Regions from separate parts of the Homo sapiens genome. Here region 1 is linked to region 2. The links are contacts of gene promoters, found by promoter capture Hi-C in blood cells and fetal thymus (Javierre and others, 2016). All regions are on one chromosome and are shown on one strand. The core of a region is centred on a gene start or on the middle of the fragment in contact, and the rest is flanking DNA. Distances in the headings are between cores, read along the strand shown.

Region 1 (2,871 bases), core at 279-2,778, 85 kb before region 2:
AGCCCAGTTTGTCCAGTCTCCAGTTCTGATTGGTACAGATTGGATGAGAGTCAAACACACCCCTGAGTGTCCCCCATCCTCCCTGGAATCTTTTAGGTCCATAAATCCCAGATTCATGCCAAGGATTTGGCTAACTTGATGGAGGTATGTGAGTGGAATCCTGCCTCCTGCTCCATTGGTAACATCATTTATCATTTATATTATGATACATGAAATTTTTACCAGCCCTTAAGAAAAACTCTGTTCCCTACTCATCTTTGCTTAGAGAACCTTGAGGGGACTTAAAGTTGCTTTTTCATTCCTTGGGCCTCGTTTTCTGCCTCTGCATGAGGAAAGGCATCAATGCTCTGGCTCTCTGCCCAGTCTTGCTTTTGTGTTTCTTTGATCTCATTGTTCAGAGGGTCTCAGAGAAGCCCCCAGAGCCATGCCTTTGCATGTTTAAGCTATTGATGCTTTTGAGATGACAGAGCGTCGCTGTGTAAGAAGTGTATTAAAGGTCTATCGTGAACAAACTTGGGTCAATAGGTGGCAGTAGTCACTGAGTCCTGAGGCCCTGACACCCCCTAAACACAAACACATTTGATGGCCATTATATTTAAGGAAGGATGTGAGAAAGGAGGTCACATTGAGATTAAAACGGGGAGAAAAGCAATCCTTTTTGGTGGAATCCAGGAAATGCTGAAATGTGCTGGATTACATCTGTGGGAGTGTTGTGTGGGGTGTAGGGGAAGATTGCTGTCAGCTAGTGAAGGGCACTGATTGGAAACAGCAGAGCCTCAGGATTGGGGGAACAGATTCATTCATCTAAGATGTAGGTGCTAAGGTTTCTTCCAGCTAGAGTAAGCATGTGTTAAATGAGGACCAGCACTGAAAGGACAGAGTGGGGTTGGAGTGAGTAGAGATACAAGTAGGGGAAGGAGGGGCAGAACTGTGTGACGGGACCGTGGAAAGGGTGGGCTGTGAAGGGGAGGACTGCGGTTAGAGGGGGAGGGGGAGGCTGCTGCAATACTGAGCCTATCTAATGGGGGAGGGGAGGGGGAGATATTGGTGTGTGCTGCAGCTGCATTACTTCCCCTCCCCCACACTTCCCAAGAAGCCAGAGCAGTGCTGGCAAATCTGTCTTCATGTATTTATTATTATTAAAAATGTGACAGATCCTTCCTCCCTGGAAGCACAACAAATACTACTGATCACATTTCTCTCTCCCCTCCCTCTGCAGAGCTTTTGCATTCTCTCTTTCATTCCACCCTGTCCTCCCCCACTTGGTCTGTTTGGTGGGGGGAACCCTTCCCTTCTTTCCTTCTTAGACCTTGGTGGCTCCCTGGGGGTTTCTAATGGTGGTTGGGAGTTTTGAGGCAGTGCTGGGAGGAAGCAGCTGAGTGAGGGGCATTCATGGCCCCAGGGAGGCAGCTGTATTCTCTTATATCCAGTGGGGAGAGGAAATCACTTGGAAATAAAGATAAAAATCCTTTCTCCAGGTAATGAAATAAGCAGGTGCTCACATTCCTTTCAGTACCTGGTGTTCCTCCCTCTTCATATTCTTCTCTTTTCTACTGCCTGAATTCTGAAGGGGAAACCCCCTTGTAATGGAAAAAGCCAGGAGTTCTCTGTCTTCCCTCCCTTACCTTAAGTCCCTCTCTTCCCAGGAAAGCCATATACTATTTATTCTTCTAGCCTGCATGTTGTGTAACCAAGAGATTTGAATGGCAAAAGCCATGGCTTCTTCCTCCCCACCTGCACCCCAGACTCCCATGCCTAGGCGGGAACCTCTTTTGTTGCAGCCTGTAGCCCTTCACCATACCCATAGGTGGTGCTGCTGTTGCTCTGCAGGCAGGGCCCTCCCGGCCAACATCATTCCTCCCCACCCTGTCGCCCTCCCCCTTTCCCCAGCCCTCTACTGCCTGATTGTTATTCCACCAACGTCTCCTCTACTGTTCCCTTCCTCAAATTAATTTTGTGGCGCTCTTTTTTCCGCAGTGCCATCTTCTTCCCCTCCCCCAGCTCCGGCTCTCTTGCTTTCTGTCTCTCTCTTTCTCTGTCTGCAGGATCTCCATCTCACTTCCCTACCTGAAATCTACACTCTTCCCTACTCCCTTTTTCGTTATCTGTTCTACCCCTGACATCTTACAGATGACTCTCCCAATGAAAGGGGGCTGTAGATGAGGGTGGCTTAGAAGAGAACAGGGTGAGGAGAACTGAGGGGTCAGTACCGAAGAGTAGGTGGGAGAATGACGAGGCTCTACAGGGGAAACATGATGGGAGACAGAAGATATCCTTTGCTGTCTGCATCTATTCAGTTCCTGGATTTGGATAAGGAGAGTTCACTTGGCAAGCGATCGATCCTGTGTTATCTGAATCTACAGATTTGGGTTCTACATGCTGGGAAAATGGGAGCTAGGGAATAGCAAGAATTCAGATAATAATGGCTCATCCAGAAACTTTTGGATTAGATTGCTAAGGATACCTCTACTTTCGTTATCCTGTGTTTTGAAGACTGGAGGAGATGTCCTGTTACTGATCTTTTGTGTCCTCAGAAGGTTCTTTCCAGGACAGTTGTGACACTTATGTGATGGACATCCTGGCTCTCTGGTCACTGCTGAGCACAATTCTGGCTGCAGGACCTTGGCTCACTCTTGTAGTCTGCCTCCTTTTTTTGTCATTCCATGTTGTTCCTTTATCACAGCTGAATTTACCTGGTTGCCCCATTCAGCCCACAGTGCCCTGTATTGCTTAGCCTTTCCAGAATATGCCCAAACTCTTTAGACTGTTAGCTCTTGCCTCATCTCGCTTCTTAACTTTATTTTGGAGACCTTTCATTGTGAGACCAGTACCCCACAACCAGCTAATTCAGCAGTGTTTTTTATTGTAAAG
Region 2 (3,181 bases), core at 219-2,718:
CTCTGGGGCCAGGTCTCGGCACATCTCAGCAGAGCCCATGGTGCTCAAAGTGCACAAGGCCAGGCCTTGTACTGGCTGAATCCCCTGGCTCAGGTCACTGCAGGGTTTGGGAGGACGGTCAGTCAAACCTCTGAGAAAATCAGTCCTTTTCAATACCCACAACAGGCAGTCCCCTGGGATTTCCAAGGTCCCTACTCTCCCATCTCCCTGATTCCAAGTGATTGCCAGAACCCTCTCACTTCTTGATGCTGTTGGTAATGAGCAGGTGGGCATCGTGCCTCTCATCCAATAGAAGCATGGCCCCCAGGTAGCCCACCCTCTTGTCTGTGAATCTGGAGGAGGCGATCAGTTTCAGGCACTCCATCTATAGTGAAGGGGGCAGACCAGGAAGAGGCAGGGGTGAAACCATAGACACTCACATCCCTGTTCCATCTTCCTCTTTAAAACCAGATTAACCTGTGGGGCATCATATCTCATCACTCTCCCTTCAACAAGAGGAGAAGCTTAGGAAATTCAGGCGTTAGTGGGTAGGAGGAACTAGGAGTTGAGGAGGATGGGAGCGGAGAGGAGGAGATGCCTGCCCTAAAGGAGGCTGGCCAGAGAATGAAGGGTTCAGGCCAGCTGATGACCAGTAGGGGTAGCAATGGGGAAAGAGGTTTGCAGTGCAGGCTGTGAAGACTCTGAAATTGTAGAATTTAAAAAACCAGGGCATAAACAGGTGAGAGAGTCTGGGACTCTGCCCCACTAGCCTTCATCAAGCTCAGGAGGGAGGTATTCCTGGCCAGTACCTGTCCAAAGTGGGCGGGGTAGCCCAACATGTGGACGTAGAGCAGTTTGGCCAGCTGCCGGTGCCTGTGCACTGGGTCCCCGTCGCGGAAGGAGGCCCGGATGTGGGCACACTCCTTTTGGATCACCTCCCGCTCCTGGGCCTGAGTCTTGGCCCCGCGAATCTCTTCGATGAGGTCCTGAAGCTTCAGCGAAGGCACCACCATCCTGACTGGCAGAGTCCGGGAGTGGAGAAACACTCTCTGGTCGGGCGTGCCTGGGCTTTCGGCCCAGGCCCGTCCTGTGTCAAGACCCTAAGAGCCCGGGTCCCACAGGTACCCTAAAATTGCGCCCGCATTTTACCTTTCCCGAAGTGGGTCTCCAAATTCCGCGCCCACCCCACCGCCCGAGAAGCCCACTACGCATGCGTCCGCACCCCACCGGCGCCCCTTCCTATTGAGCATGCGCGGGAGCCCCACCTATTTCTCTCTACCGTTTCCTCCCCCTACCTGGTACCCCATCCCTAGCTCAGCCATTGCTTTTTTTTCCACGACCCTCCGCTGTTTCTTCCGCGAGCTTCCTCCCCCGATTTCCATCTCAGGCAGCGGCAGCGGCAGCGACAGCCTGCCTACCCCAGGACTCCAGCCTCACCTGGCTTCTGCCTCAACTCCGCTCCTCTGCCCCCCAGCGCTTCCTGGTACGGGGCCGAGCAGGGGTTGGTGCTCCGTGCGGTCCTTCCCTCTCCCCGCCTCCACCACGGGACCCCGCCCTCCTGGGCCGACTGCAGAGCCTTCCTGAATCCTCTGACCTCGGGCCTCAGGCTTTAGCGGAGAGACAGCATGATAGGCCTGGAGTTCTTCAAGAGGCCTCCTCGCACATCCTTACCACCCGGAGAGCCTCAGTTTGGATTTGAAGCCATCGCACCCCAAAGGAGATGACAATCCCCCCCCTTTTTTGAACTTTTTTATTAATATATTTTTTTTGTTAAATTTCTTTGTATTTTTTTCCTGCAAGACTTGGTGTTGGCGGCACTGTTGTAGTTTAACTTCAATCCCAAATTCCATGAAATAGAAATCAGAAGTAAAGGTTGAGAGGGGAGGAAGGAGGGAGGCAAGCCAAGGAATAAACAAGAGTTTGACTAGAAAAAAAGAAGAGGGTATGTGTGGTGGGCATTCCTGGGCAAGGCCATTCCTTGAGGGAGGGGGTTGGCAGGCAGCTTGCCTCTGCCTCATGCAGGGGAGGGAGGAAAGATCCCCTGGGGACCCTGCAGTCCCCTCTTCCTAGGGCTTCCTGCTCCCAGGGGAAAAACTAATACCAGAGAGGGATCAGCCACAACCTCAAACAGGGCTCTCCACCCACCTGTCACCCGGGTTTGACTCCCACCTCTGCCCTGCCTGGGAAGCATGTGAGATCAGCTATCTTTGATCCCCTCCTTCTGTTGTTTTCCCATTTCACAAGATTCTGATGTAAAGGGGGAAGGGATATAACCCATTTTGGGACTACTAAACTTGTCACAGCTTCTGCTTCCATGTGAGCTCCTGTTATCTTGTCTGGTCCTATCCCCCAGAAGTGCCTCCTCCCACCACAACTCCCAGAGTTGGGATGTGGGGGCCTTGCTCAAGTGCCTCTAACCCTCTGCAGTAGAAATGTCTTCTTCAGGCCCCTTAGGAATTTAATCAAAGGCCACAAGTGAGTCCAGACCAACCAAATAAACTATTATGGGGGAGACAGAAGGGTGGGAGAAGTCAGTGGCAAAGTCTGGGCAGGGTGGACTTGACTGCATTGGATATTCTCTGTTCCTTTACACGTTGCTCTTGGCATGGCATGCCACCAGAGGGGGCTGGAGGAGGGGCTGGCCGATGAGGAGAAAAAGAGGGAAATGCTGGGGAGTTACTCTACTTTTCACTTCCCTTCTCTCCTTCAGGGAAGGATGGAATTGGGCAGTAACCCAGCTCAGTGCTTGGAGGTAAGATAATAGCCTCCAAGATTAGAGGTGGAGGATGCACCTCCTGCAGCTTTTTCACTAGGCCTCAGAGGGACAGCAGGCCCCTTAGGCTAGGGAGCCACAGCAGCTCAGCCAGTGCCTTGCCCGACATTCAATCACTCCTTCTTCATTTTCTTCCTCCTCTCCATTCAGCTTCCAGGAGTCTCCTTAGGACACCAAACCCCCACCCGCAGCGAAGTTGAGGTCTAAAGAAAAGGTGGGAGGGCGTGGAGCAATGGTCTGACTTAGATTTGTGTGTCTCAGAGAAGACAGCAACTCTGAGAGAGAAAAGCCCTTCATATGTAAACAATCTAGAGAAAGAAGGGGTTGGGATGGGGAAGGGAGTGAGGAATACAGAGACAGATCCAGAAGAAATGAGATAATCTGAAAGAAGACAGGGAAAGAAAAAGCGAGAGAAAAAAACAAAGGAGC

What was found. The method cuts DNA at HindIII sites, captures the fragments that hold promoters and counts their contacts. A CHiCAGO score of 5 or more calls a contact.
Region 1: a contact is called between a fragment that was not itself captured here and the fragment with the promoter of AP1G2 in region 2, in 7 of 17 cell types (megakaryocytes, activated CD4 T cells, naive CD4 T cells and 4 more). The highest score is 6.4, in megakaryocytes.

The regions. Positions count from the first base shown.
Region 1 is chr14:23,481,638-23,484,508 of GRCh38, forward strand. No RefSeq gene overlaps it. Among named protein-coding and RNA genes, the nearest start is that of NGDN, 13 kb to the left of the region's middle. RefSeq lists enhancers at 434-1,191, 1,192-1,948. The HindIII fragment of the contact is 5,436 bases long and covers 1-2,871 here.
Region 2 is chr14:23,566,323-23,569,503 of GRCh38, forward strand. AP1G2 (adaptor related protein complex 1 subunit gamma 2) reads right to left here and starts at 1,469. Exons shown (of 22, transcript NM_003917.5): 1 at 1,417-1,469; 2 at 789-997; 3 at 240-364; 4 at 1-97. The coding sequence starts at 992. JPH4 (junctophilin 4) reads right to left here. Exons shown (of 6, transcript NM_001146028.2): 6 at 1,716-3,181. AP1G2-AS1 (AP1G2 antisense RNA 1) reads left to right here. Exons shown (of 4, transcript NR_110555.1): 3 at 1-1,100; 4 at 1,367-1,754. RefSeq lists enhancers at 682-771, 802-1,041 and silencers at 1,522-1,571, 2,561-2,660. The HindIII fragment of the contact is 3,957 bases long and covers 970-3,181 here.